Linked DNA regions of Homo sapiens: region 2 is linked to region 1. Evidence: promoter capture Hi-C in 16 types of primary human blood cells and fetal thymus (Javierre and others, 2016). All regions are on one chromosome and are shown on one strand. Each heading gives the region's core, a stretch centred on a gene start or on the middle of the fragment in contact. The rest is flanking DNA. Distances are from core to core; before and after follow the strand shown.

The links. Contacts are between HindIII fragments. The CHiCAGO score rates a contact against its expected background, and 5 or more counts as called.
Region 2: a contact is called between a fragment that was not itself captured here and the fragment with the promoter of DCAF4L1 in region 1, in 1 of 17 cell types (non-activated CD4 T cells). The highest score is 7.2, in non-activated CD4 T cells.

Annotation. Positions count from the first base shown.
Region 1 is chr4:41,977,024-41,984,316 of GRCh38, reverse strand. It overlaps DCAF4L1 (DDB1 and CUL4 associated factor 4 like 1), which reads right to left and starts at 2,561. Exons shown (of 1, transcript NM_001029955.4): 1 at 1-2,561. The coding sequence starts at 2,524. The coding sequence ends at 1,334. RefSeq lists enhancers at 1,299-2,071, 1,631-2,830. The HindIII fragment of the contact is 3,961 bases long and covers 172-4,132 here.
Region 2 is chr4:44,683,546-44,690,447 of GRCh38, reverse strand. It overlaps GUF1 (GTP binding elongation factor GUF1), which reads right to left. Exons shown (of 17, transcript NM_021927.3): 7 at 4,425-4,489; 8 at 3,735-3,938; 9 at 2,302-2,441; 10 at 1,039-1,162; 11 at 473-605. Among named protein-coding and RNA genes, the nearest start is that of GUF1, 8.6 kb to the right of the region's middle. The HindIII fragment of the contact is 325 bases long and covers 2,600-2,924 here.

The DNA.
Region 1 (7,293 bases), core at 1,312-3,811:
GTCCAAGGCATCATTGTCCCTTGCCTAACTACAATAGTGTCCTAATTGCTTATTTTTATTTTTTGAGGAATAACATATATACAGTAAACTATAAAAACGTGAAGCATATAGATATATGAATTACGTATGTATCAAGTGTCAAGATAAAGAAAACTCAGCATTCCTAAAGCTTCCCCATGTCACTTCTCAAACATCCTAAAAAGAAAAAGAAAAAAAAATCCTTTCTTTCTACAGAGGTACGTACTACTCTACCTTTAATCACCATAGACAAGTTTTTACTGCTTTTGAACTTTAGAATTGAATCATACAGTTTGTACTCATTTCTACCTAATTTCAGTCAACATGTTGAGATTGGTCCATACTGTTTCACATAGCAAGTGTGCCTTATTTTCTATTATTATGCAGTATCCGATTGTATGATTATATCACGAATTTTAGCATTTTCGAAATTCAGATCATTTCCAGGCTTTGGCTATTAAGAAGTAGCAACTAACCTTATTACACGTTTTTTTTCTTCCTTGCTTAGTAGAAAAACAGGCTCTTTAACATTTTTAATAAATCTCTCACAAACTGCTGCTCCTAGATTACAAAAAGTCAAAGCCAATTCCTTGAATCTGAACTTCAAGTCACCATAATAGAAACCGGAGCTGCTGTACCTTACATTCTGAAAGGTACCTCAACAAAAGCACATCAAGGACTGTTTAAAACTTCTAGTATTTAAAAAGATCCATCTTTCCTTCCAATGCCTATGGATGATAACAATAAAAGGAGAACCTTAAGAGATCTGCTATTGAGTTTGAGAAGGCCAAATTTAATGATTCCAAACTCCAGCCTTAAATATTTCTGTAGAGACTCTGAGAAATTACCTCTCCCTTGTCTCCACTCCCACTGGCTTCCTCAAGCGCAGATGCCTGGGACCCTGTATGATTAGTCAAACAGTCTTACCAGTACCATCATTATGCTTCTCTAAAGGGCTACTAGTGAAAGAAGCTGCTTTAATTTATTTTAGTTTTTGCCAATCTTCAGTCCTTAGAAAAGTCTTAATTATTTAAAAAAAAAAAGGGTTGGGGAGGTGGTTAACTGTTCTAAGGCATTCAACAAGAGGAAACAGGTACCTTTTATGAAAAGGACTTTCAAGTTAAGTCCACAGTTTAACTGAAATAACTTTACAAGAACGTCTCCACATAAAACTCTTAACACCTTACCCCTGGCAGCCGGATGGATGCGATCTATATACAACACGTCTCTTAAAATGCTCTCACAGAAACGGTAATAAGATACTCTTAACTTCCTTAAGTCAAATCCACATTCGGCCGCGCTGCCACCTGCAGAATTAGCTGAAGGGGAAACAATAAAGGTCCTGCCGGACAGCCATGAGCAGCCCTGGTGCTGCTCCCCGGATGCCCCCGAGCCGAGAAGCGAAGGCCACGCTGGGAATGTCGTCCTCGGAGGCAGAGTACGGGGAAGGGATGGTTCTGAGCAGGTGGGCATCATGGAGGCTCCAGATTCTCGTGTAGCAGTCCTGGCCCACTGCCACCACGATTCCCTCTTCCTCGTGCACATGCAGGGGCAGATAGGCGGACTCATTCACGTGACCTTCGTACTGCCTTACACATTTAGTGGCCCTCAGATCCCACAGCTTGATCTTTCCAGTCATGTCTGATGCCATCAGGCATTGCTCTTCTTGGAGGATTTGCACAGAGGTCACTGCTGAGTCATGGAACAGGCGAGTGGCCCTCCACCCCTTGCCTCGATTTCTACAACGCAGATCAATGGCAAAGATCTCCCCGGAGCGACAGCCATTAAACAGCAAAGGAGCCGTACTAGCAAACTGCTGGGCCAAGACATCACTGCTGGTATCAAATGACTGCTGGTGTCCCGTCGCCACGCTGGTCAACAGGACCTGCTGAGACAAGCCTGCACTAAAGCAGTGATATGCCCGGGTGTTGAGGGACCACGCACAGGACCAGGCCTCTGGGATCTGGAAACTGCAGAGCATGCCAGGCTGGTTAACTCTTGTGTGAACACTTAAGAACCGCGACGCTGGGAGCAGCACTGCACAGCTTGGAGCATCTGTGATTCCCTCGAAGCACAGCAGAACGTGAGAGTCCAACTGGTTCAGCGAGGCCCAGCACAGGGACTTCACCTTCCGGTTGGGGACGTAGAGGTTTCTGAGCACGTACACGTGGAACGAAGGGATCTTCAGAGTTCGCAGGCTGATGATGCCGTACTTGGAGCCTTCGACTTCGACCTGGTTCACTACGAAGAGCTGGTCGCTGTTGGTACTCGCCAGAATGAAGTTAAATCGGTCGCTCGCCAAAGAGGAGGGATCCAAGCTCCGAATTTGGACCTTTTTCCGCTCCATGCAGCTCACACGCAGCTCGTTGGCTAAACGGGAGTAACTGGTGACGTTGAGGAAACCTAGCTGGCTTTTTCGGAGCATGGAAGATGCATTAAATCCCATTCTGGCTACCTTTTTCAGCTTGGCCTCTTCCTCGAGGAGTCGCAGCCTTTCAGCCTCCATTTCCTCCTGCGGAATGTTCCTCGTGACAGGAAATTCTGCAGGATGTTCTTCTCCGTGACAGGATGTTCTTTTCCGTGACAGGAAGTTCCGTCCGGGTGCAAGCGGAAGTGTTGCTACTTTTTATCCTCTCTATTCTAGGAGGAAGTCCATTGTTACAGATGTGTATTACAAATCTCTTTTCCTACTCTGTGGGTTGTCGTATTCTCTCAGTGGTGTCTTGATGAAAGGAAGTTCTTGATGTTAAATTTTTTCCTTTCTCTTTTTGAGACAGGGTCTTGCTCTTTCACCCAGGCTGGAGTCCAGTGGCACGACCACGGCTCACTGCAGCCTGGAACTCCTGGGCTCAAGTGATTCTCCTACCTCTGCCCTACTTAGCTGGGACTATGGGCTCACAACACCATGCCAGGCTACTTTTTTTGTAAAGATGGGGTCTCCCTGCTTTGCCGATGCTAGTCTGGAACTCTTGAGCTCAAGCAGCCTGTCCGCCTCAGCCTCCCAAAGTGCTGGGATTACAAGCATGAGCCCACGCGCCCTGCCTGTATTTCTTATTTTTTTATTTTTTATTTTAAGACGGAGTCTCGCTCTGTCGGCCAGGCTGGAGTACAGTGGCGCGATCTCGGTTCACTGCAAGCTCTGCCTCCCACGTTCACGCCATTCTCCTGCCTCAGCCTCCCAAGTGGCTGGGACTACAGGCGCCCGCCACCACGCCTGGCTAATTTTTTTTGTATTTTTAGTAGAGACAGGGTTTCACCGTGTTAGCCAGATGGTCTCGATCTGCTGACCTCATGATCGGCCCGCCTCAGCCTCCTAAAGTTCCGGGATTACAAGCGTGAGCCACTGCGCCCGGCCGCCTGTATTTTTAAAATACAGTTAGAGACCAGCCTGGGCGGCATGGTGAAACTTTGTCTCTAAAAAAATACAAAGATTAGGCCGGGCGCAGTGGCTCACGCCTGTAATCCCAGCACTTTGGGAGGCGCAGGCAGGCGGATCACGAGGTCAAGAGATTGAGACCATCCCGGCTAACACGGTGAAACCCCGTCTCTACCAACAATTAAAAAAATTAGCCGGGCATCGTGGCGGGCGCCTGTAGACCCAGCTACTCTGGAGGCTGAGGCAAGAGAATGGCGTGAACCCGGGAGGCGGAGCTTGCAGTGAGCCGAGATCGCGCCACTGCATTCTAGCCTGGGCAACAGAGCAAGACTCTGTCTCAAAAAATAAATAAATAAATAAAATACAAAAATTAGCGGGGTATGGTGCACACCTGTAGACCCAGCTACTCAGGAGACTGGGAGGGAAAATCACTTGAGCCTAGGAGTCTTGGAGGGAAAATCACCTGAGCCCTGAAAGTTGAGGCTGCAGTGATCACCCCACTGCACTCCAGCCCAGCTGGGAGACAGAATAAGACCCTGTCTCAAAAAGAAAGAAAAATAAGTAAATAAATTATGAATTTATCCAAATTGTCCATTTGTTTCATTAATGGTTAGTGTCTTTCATGTTCTGTTCAGGACATTAGTACCTATTACATGATACTAGTAAAGTTTTGGGGTGTCTTCAAGAGGAGGCTGATATCTCCAGTCCCCATCTGGATGTTTCCTTTGCCACAAAGCTTGCTGACTCCCCTTACGCTATGAATTTCCAGGAATTTTGGAGGACTGGGGAGAGTTGGTAGGGACTACAGAGAAATCCGGTGATATCTGGACTATGGATCCTGTCGGAATCTACAGGCCCCAGAGCTGGGATCACAGAGAGCACAGGAGATTGAGGCCCACACACTTGCCATGGAACATAACATGGGACAAGGGATTTCTATGTATCAGAAGAATGTGTTTCACCACTGCCAAATGGAAGTCAGCTGACAGATGCAGAAGTCTTGCAAAGGGCTATCAAAGCATAGAGGACTGCTTGATACTGAGTTATCAGTGGGGCTGTTAGGAACCCCATATATTCTAACAATGACCTACAGAAAGCAGATAGCAACATGGCGGCAGTCAGACATTTAAGGCATTGCCTGTTTTCCTTCTTAAACCTCCTGACCCCACCATCGGAAGAGCAGGCACATGGAAAAAAAGGGGTGTGTATAAAGAAAGTTGGAACTACGGGTCTAGTCTGCTCTGGAAGGCATGGAGGAAGTTTTTGAAATAAATATGAGACTAATATTTTAAATCAGTAGGACCTAATCTTAATACCTAGAATGAAAGTTTTAATAACTAAGGAGGCTGATACTTTGAAGCAATGAAATCTGACAAAATACCAAGTGTAGAAATGATGAGACTTTCAAGCTTATGCCTCTTGAGGTGAGATTCTCAATCAAACTGATTACACATCTTTGTCTACCCTAGTATACTGTGGACATCTTTAGACAGGGATTGTTTCTTATCCATCTTTCTATCCTTACTGTCTAGTGTATAATATAGTACATGGGACATAGGATATAGATAAGTGAATGAAGGAATGAAAATTATAAGAACTACATGTTTAATTCTCCTTTATTTCATAGGCTCCTTCACTGAGAGGAATAAGGGATTAAGGTTATTTCTGCAAAATCTATCCAACTTCTACTCTACAGGGAGAGCTTTCAATCTATTTCCACTTCTTTTTTTCAATTTTTAATTCCCGTGGATATATAGTAGGTGTATATATTTATGGGGTACACGAGATGTTTTGATACAGGCATGTAATGTGAAATAAGCACATCAGGGTAAATGGGGTATCCATTCCCTTAACCATTTATCCTTTGAGTTACAAACAATCCAATTACACTCTTTAAGTTATTTTAAAACATACAATTAAGTTACTATTGACCATGATCACCCCGTTGTGCTATCAAATAGTAGGTCCTATTCGTTTTTTGTGTTTTGTGTTTTTTTTTGTGTGTGTGTGTGTCTTGCTCTGTTGCTCAGGCTGGAGTGCAGTCGTGCGATCTCGGCTCATTGTAACCTCTGCTTCCTGGGTTCAAGTGATTCTCCTGCCTCAGCCTCCCGAGTAGCTGGGACTACAGGCTCCCGCTACCATGCCAGGCTAATTTTTGTATTTTTAATAGAGATGGGGTTTCACCATATTGGACACACTGGTCTCGAACTCCTGACCTTGTGATCCGCCTGCCTCGGCCTCCCAAAGTGCTGGGATTACAGGCATGAGCCACCACGCCTGGCCAGTCCTATTCATTATTTAACTTTTTTTTTTTTTTAACTCATTTACCATCCCCACCTCCCCCTTCTTTTCTGATTAACTAACTTTCCTTCCCTCTCAATAAACATATAAATCAACCTTCTAGAAAAAATAAGTCTCCTTAAATGCTACATGACTTTTTATCTACTGTCTTAAAAAATTATTTCAGCCTTTAGGATTCTTTCCTTCTCTTTTAGGAATTTACATACTCCATTCCCACCATGCCACTCCATTTCCTTCATCCACCATCTCTTCCCATTTCTCCATAGAAGAAATTGGAAACGTTCCCCATAACTCTCACAACTCTGCCCCTCAGGTCTTACCCCAGCTCAAGGTCCCATACTCACCCTGCCCAACCACATCGTGTGACCTTTGCAGCAGTGGTTCTCATCCTGGGACAACTGTTGGCAATATCTGGAGACATTTTTAGCTGTCACAACTGGATACTACTGGCATCGAGTGGGTTGAGGCTGGAGATGCTGCTAAACATCCTACAACACATAGGGCAGCCTCTTACGACAGAGAATTATACCCCAAAAAACTCCTCTCCTCAGAGTTAAAATTCAGAACTGTGTATAAAAGGCAAGGCTTACCAGCTTCCACCATGTGTGTGTGTGTTTTAAATTCCTAAATCTTCACACATGCCACATGCCTCTTAATACTGACCGTTTTTCCCATCCCCCACCTCTGTTCATGTCTGAAGCCACTTCCTCACTTTAGCATCACTGTTGTGAGTCACAGAGAGAGGAACAAGAGGCAACATTCCTCATCTTTTTACTCCAATATCTATACAAGACGGATAGGGAGGTAAAAAGATAAACAGGGATAGATTCCTACTCTATTCTATTCTGAGCCTCTTGCAAAGTCATATTCCAAATGCTTCAGATAGGCTTCACTGCAGCTTATTTATTCTTACCAATTTCACTATACTTTTTCCCAATATCTCCAACATCCCTTTTCTTGTCTTTGAGAAGCTTCCTGGAAATAACTTTTGTCTGACATGAATCTAAACGTATTATATTTCTGTGACATTTTACACTAATTATTGCTCTTTCTAAAAATACCCAGGCCTTTACTTTTTAGCCAATTTTTTTGTTGTTGTTGTTTCTAAAACAGAAGGTGAACTGGGTCAATTCAGGTATTAATTTTAGCTATGCCATATCAACTTCTGGACACAAGCAGCTAAAGAGAAACTGGAATGGGAAGAAAATTCCATTCCTGCCCTGTTTCCTGGTTAGGAAGGAGCAGACTTTAGAGAAGGAAGGCCAAGCATGGTTTGTAACAGGCTGAAAACATGCCCTTGAAAGCTGAGGCCTCAAGTGTGCCTGTGAAATGGTAAACAAACCCGGTAATGGTAAATGAGCCATGGCTTTGGCTTATTTGCAATAAGGAACAAATCAATTGAAGTATTTCATATTCCTCTCAGAAGAGAACCATAAAGAGCCATGAGACTTCCCAAACAATTGGGATAAATGGGAGAATTTAATAAATAGAATGAAACAAACAGAAGGAAATAAAAAAATGAGCAAAATGCTTTTTAAAAAGCTAAAAACATTTTAGAAAGTGTGAGAATAATAATTACTAAACCCACATGTCTGTAA
Region 2 (6,902 bases), core at 1,513-4,012, 2.7 Mb before region 1:
CAAAATTAGTATTTGTTTAAAATGAACAGATTGCCACTTACATGGAATACAATACTGTCTTCATCACTGATTTGAAATTTAAAATTTCCCAGTCACCAGAATGAATGCTTCACTTTTTACGAGATAAATTACTTATGACCAAAATTACATTTTTCATCTTTGTGCTAGAATCAGAACATTATTTTCACTACTAATTTTACCTTTTACTATCAGCAATAGACTAGTTTTGATAATCTGGAGATTACATCAGGTTAAGAAAAATATTGCATAAATTAGTTTTCAAAAAAGTTCTTCATCATTAGCCATAGGGTAATTCAATGTTTATTACTACTAATCAATAAATATTTTGTTTAATACTTAATCAGCTATTGGTATAGTAAAAAGCTTCTCCTGCATTGTATATACACACATTTATTTTTTCCAAGAGACTAATGCAAAACAGTACTAAATACCAGTACTAAATACCAAGTACCTTTATCAATTTTGATGATGACAGTACAGCTTTATATGGAACAGTAGGGGTTGTTAAAATAACAGAAGCATTATATTCTTGCTCCAGTCGCTGGTTGAAAACTTCCATGTGCAAAAGTCCAAGAAATCCTAGCCTGGGGGAGGAAAAGACAAACTCCAAAATGTTTATGTCCCATGGGCTTCATTTTTTTTTTTTTTAATGAACATATTGTTACTTTAAGGGAGGGATGGAATTAAGTCATTCAAACAATTCACAATATAATTAAATGCTAGCATAATTTTATTAAATAAGATTAAAATCTTCCATTGGGAATCTATTTTAAATCACTATAAAACTTACCCATAAAATGTCAATCCGCAACGTGAAACAGGCAGATAAAAATTGTTTTCGTTCACTTTACACTAATATAAACTTATTTTCAGTAAATGTTCCAGAACAATGCACCATTTTATACCTCCCTTACTTATAAAGATATTTTTTAAAAACCTCCCTTTCCTATAAAAATATTTTTAAAATACACCATTTACACCTCCCTTTCCTATAAAACACATGTGAATGAATCTTACCTCCAGCCAGCACCCAGAGCAAGGCTACTATCCCGATGAACGGTCACACTGGAATCATTTAAAGTCAGTTTTTCTATAGCACTCTTCAGATTGTTATATTCAGATTGGTCTAGAGGATACATTCCTGGGGATACAATGATTTCTAATTATCACGTGATAAGCTGCCTACAGACCTATCAAACCACATGTGTAGTGCTGCCAAGTTCCAAATTAGTCATTTACCTTTTAAATTACTTTCTTGTATTTTATTGACCAAAATATTGGTTTGCTAAAAATGAATGATTATTTGGTTTCAAAGTATCTTACAAGTCATTAGTCTGAAAGAATATACAACTAGATTTGCACTCCAAATAATGTTTTTAATGTTTTTGAAAAAATACAGGGAAAAGAAAAAAAAAAACATGGGAATTAGGCCTATTAAGAAAACACAGTGTAATTTCAAAAACAAAAGCACAAGACATTCCACAACCCAAATGAAACTTTATTATTGGATAAAAATAGAAGTAGACATGAAAACTATACTGCACTCTCAATTCTCTAAGGCAGATTATCTACTTAAAACCATAGTTAAATTTTGCTTTTTGGTATTTACTGACAAAAACTATGGGAATCACTACTGATTCTCTTTCATCTGACACCTCTGAAGTCCTCTAAAATCCACATGACTGACTTTGCCTAAAGGTAGGGGTAAACAAAGTTCCTAATTCCCAGTGAGAGAGACTGTAGGGCAAAAATTAAGGGCTAGATACTCAGCACAGAGTAACCTGATGACCTTCAATCAGGTCTTCCTTTTTCCAAAGTAAATGAAGTAAAAGATTCTGAAATTATACGTACTTGAGGCAACACCATTCTGTCATATCTACATTAGTACAGTACAATATTAAAGAAAGTCTATCGAAGATGAAGGCACTCAGTCAGTGTCTACTGATAATTACTAATAAGAACATCCTAATTAGAAAAATGTTTCAAATATAATAATGAACTCCCTAGAAAAATAAGAAAGAAATTTATATTACTGTATCCTATATATCACAGCTTCTTCCTCAAGAACTTATTTCTTAACACATCCTAAATGATCTCCCACATATAATTTCATCACACATATGTAATTATAAACTGATAAACAGCACAAAGTGAAACAATATGCTGGAATTAGTGGTTATTTAAAATAACCAGAATGTGTATTTTTTCCTTAACCACTGAGACAGACTTTTAGTTTAAAAATATCATGGCCCTCAACCTTTGAATTTGTGAACTCCTCACCTGCAAATACCATTGGTTTCGCTGATTTAAACCCAGGCAAGGGCTCCACTGGTTGCTTATGTAAACATAATGTATCTCCTATTTGCGCTTCAGTGACATCTTTCATCCCAGCAATCAGATAGCCCACCTGTCCTGCATATCTAAATAAAATTATTATATGCAAATATTTACTGCTTTAATGTTTCAAGCACATAACTCACAATTAGTTCTACCTTCCCAGGAAACTATCATACACTTTCCAAACTTTCCATACACTTTGAAAATAAGTGCTACATATCAATTATCAAACTCTGAAGCTTGTCAGCAAATGAACACACCAGGTCTTACAATCCATTAGACCTCTCTACTTATAAACCTAATGCCTTTTTCATGATTCTGCCAACCTTTGCAATTTAAACAGCAGTTTCTAAAATATATGTAAATACAGTGAAACTAGTAAGTACAAAAGCATTATAATAAGTACACTTGTGATGTCTTTTATTAATGAATTGTGTTGAAAATGTTCTTTAACAAAGGAAAAAAAGGTAAATTTTTATCCAAGAAAAATGTGAACTCTCAACAAACTGGACACTTGATATTCCTCCTGTAGCAAAAGAGCAAATCCTATGAGTTCAGTTTAAGCTTAGTTAAAAAAAAAAATCCCTACAAAACTAAAATGATTTACACTTAGAATGAGCTTTAAGAACCTTAAATGAAGATGTGATAATGTTTGGTATATATGGCAGAATATAAATAGATGTTAAAATATTTCAGTAAAATAAAAATAGACTTTCTGACTCAATATAGTGCTGTTTTTAGACATATAACACTAAACACTCAAATGTGATCTGACAGTCATCTGGTTCAATAATTTCTACAGACAAGGAACAGGACCTTACAAAGCTCAAATTATGTACCCAAGGTCATGCCTCATCAGTACCTGATACGGAGTAGGCACTCAATAAATAGTTCTTTTACAAGTCAATTCAGATGTTTTTCTAATGCACACTACCCTTGCTAATCCTACTCCCCAAGAATTTTAATCAAGGTTTTACCATGAATTCCACACTAAAGATTTATTAAGGTTTCTATTATACCACCTTTACATTGGAAAATCTAGTTATGAAGAAATGTCAAAAATGATACCTAATATGGATATGGGTGGAGGGAACTAACTCTTTCATTGTCTCATCAAATACATCGATATAGGATCCAATCTACCCTTGATCATAAATCTAGTTATAACTAGTCATTTAGAATAAAAAAAGTATCAACTGACGTTTCTATTGTCCTTCCCATGAGATTCCTTGACAGAGCATTTACTGTATAGTTGCATTAAATAGTTTTTTTTAAGTTACCAAATGAGGATCATTCTAAGCATACCAAGTTGAGAAAAATGCAGAAATAGAACCACATACAAATGCATTTTAATTTTACTAATGCAGATTACTTACAATTTATGAGTTGGCTGCTCATTAGGATTCAAGACTCCTACTTCATTAACTTCGTATGTCTTTTGAGTATGTGCAGATACAATTTTATCTCCTTTGGAAACCACTCCGTCAAATAATGCTACATTGGCTATCACACCTCTATACTGGTCAAAGGTGGAGTCAAATACCAAAGCTCTCAGAGGATTTTTGCGATGCACTTTAGGACTAGTAAATATAAGTAAAAAGTAAATATATATACACTAAATTAAAATCTTAATAAAATTCTTATTTTCAACTTAGATATTGTACTTGAGTTCTTGAGAAAGTTTGATACACAACAGCCTAAATAAAAAGACCTTTTTATAAAATATATTAGATTTAATAACCTCTAGTTTTAACAAATTATTTATGAATATATTTGTTCAGCTTAAAGCAAAGGAAAATAACTGCCAATGTACTGAGGTATATTTTATAATGATTGTCATGAAAAGACCTCTATCAATCATCTTTACTTTTTCTTTTACTTTACTGTACTTGCCTTCTATGTATTACTAAAAGCAAATAAATTTATTCTCGCTGCCTGCAAGAATATTTGCCACATCCATTAAGCTAAAATAACAGTTCAAGCTGACAGTCTTTGAACTATTAAACATGGACAGTTTTTGAACTATTAAATAGAGACAACTAGTACAAAAATCACCAAATACTCACGGGGGGATTCTTTCAATAATTGCCTGAAGAACACTCTCAACATTTGTTCCAAGTTTAGCAGAAATCTAAAAAGATACATGTGAAAAATATAAGCATTTAAAGTTAAGACTATACTTTTCTATCTTGATGACCTGTGACTTATGATCAGAAGGAAAAAAAAATTCCAATAGTTATCAATTTGAGAAATACACCAAAAGGAAAAGAACAAAGCAAACAGTATATTGACAAATACTTTTTCTATTATAGTTACGTAGTTCTACAGTTCTAGAATGGAATTACAAGAGAGTCCTAATTATGGTATTGAAAGAGGAATAGTTCGAAATCTGGGTAACAATCATGTCTTTGCATTGAATCCATGTATTTCACCAGTATCTATCTCTTTGAGCATAAATTTCATCATCTAAAAAATGAAGTGATTATTCATATTCTGCCTAAATCTCAAGGTTGTTGTGTGGATAAACAATGTATGTGGATGGCATAAAACCATAAGGCATCTTACTACTACTTTAGTGTTCTCACACCAGAAAAGCAAGCCAACACTCAAGCCACATGGTATGACTGACCTTTATCACTGGTAATAAATGGACTATCTCTGAAATCCTGACTTCAAACTTCTTACTCTTCACATTCACTCTAGACTAGGATTTCTCAGTTTCAGCCCTACTGACATTTTGGGCCAGATAATTCTTTGTTTTGGGAGGCTGTCCTGTGCATTACAGGATGTTCAGCAGCAACCAGGGCACCTCATTTACCCACAAGATGCTGGTAGCATCCCTCCCAAGATGTGAAAACCAAAAATATCTCCAAATATTTGCCCAGGGGCAAAACCACCCACCACTGACAACTACTGCTCTAGACTGTAGTACTTTCTTTACAATAGTCCTTAACTTGTAACTATTGAATATACTACTTGATGCTGTCCATCAGCTTCACCCTCCACTCTGTTTCTATCTTTTCCCAGATGGGACTCCAAGATCCATCATTTACATTCACTCTGGTTCAACCACTTTCTGTTCTCTTCTTATTAGAGGCAGCTGACAAAACCTCAACCTTGACTGCATCCAATTATGTGTTTTTTCTATGCCCATATACAGAACAGCTTAACATTACTGGAAAAAAGAAATCAAATAAATGGTCTGGTTCGTTTCTTGTATCTGACAACAAGCTATCTTGCCTATGGGCAGCTGTGCTTCTTATATACTTATCTCCAAATCAAGAAACATCATTTAATGCAATGCAGATTTTAAAATTAAGGTTCTTTATTAATTTTAAAGTATGAAATGGAGGTTTGTAGACAGTGCTCAGTTTAGCAATGAACTGTTATGTTTTATGTATATTGTTTCCTCCTGGATCATAATCTCCTTTTCATATGGATAGTTAATACTGAGCCATAGTAATTTCACATCTGGGCTACCATTAATAGCTGGATTCCCTGTATCTCTTCTTATACCTCTTTGATCCATTCTCTGTAAGGCTACCTGAATGACTGGTTAATTTGTTTCTCTTGCTTTAAAATCCTTCCATTGTCTTAGAATAATTTTCAAGCTCTTCAGCACAGCACGAGTCCCAGCATGACTTGATTCCTGCATACCCCTACAAAGCCTTCTCATCCAATCAACCTTTCTGATCAGTAAACATGCCAAATCTTTTCCTAATTTAAGTCCTTTACACATGCTCTTTTCTCTTCCTGGAATGTTTTTCTGAAAATTATTCATTCCTCCACGTTTCAGTTTATCAGAGACGCTTTTGCTAAGTTATTCCATGTCATAACGTCTCTCTAAGAAAAAAGACTTTTCACTGTTAATGATGGTATTTCACCTAGAATAATAACAATTTGTCGAATGAATTTCCTTGACAATCTCTATCCTAGTCAATAATTCCTATGCTTACTTCTTTGTTTACTTATTTATTGACTGTCTGCAGAAAGGAAGGGGTCTTGTCTGTCTTATTCACTGCCATACTCTTAGCTGGCATATACCAAATAAGAATCTGAATGAATTTTATTAAGATTAAAATCAGAATAGTTAATTGTATTTTAATATAACATAATCCAAAATATAAAACCATATATAACTTGCTCTTTTGAAAATTAAATTAGCTTGAAAGAAAAACATTACATTGCTGTGCTGACATACTTTACACTACCATGTAGTATAGCAGTTTGGCTGTGGCTGTTTAACAAGCAGATCATCATTTCAAAGGTAAATAAAAATTCAAATTTAAAATGGTAGCAACTTTGGTATAAATAAAATCTATTGTTTCCTAGCACTACAACTAGCTTTTTATAAAATAGGTTTTTGTCAGTTCCAAGAATGATACATACAAAAGCCCTGAAATTAGTTTGAACCTGCTCTTCAAAGACAGTATTTCCACTGGGCAAACTGACACACAAGAAATACTGCAGGGAGTTTCAGAAGGCCTGTGTTTTAGTCCTGGCACATTGGCTAACTAAACCTGTGATCTTAGGAAAGTGATAAA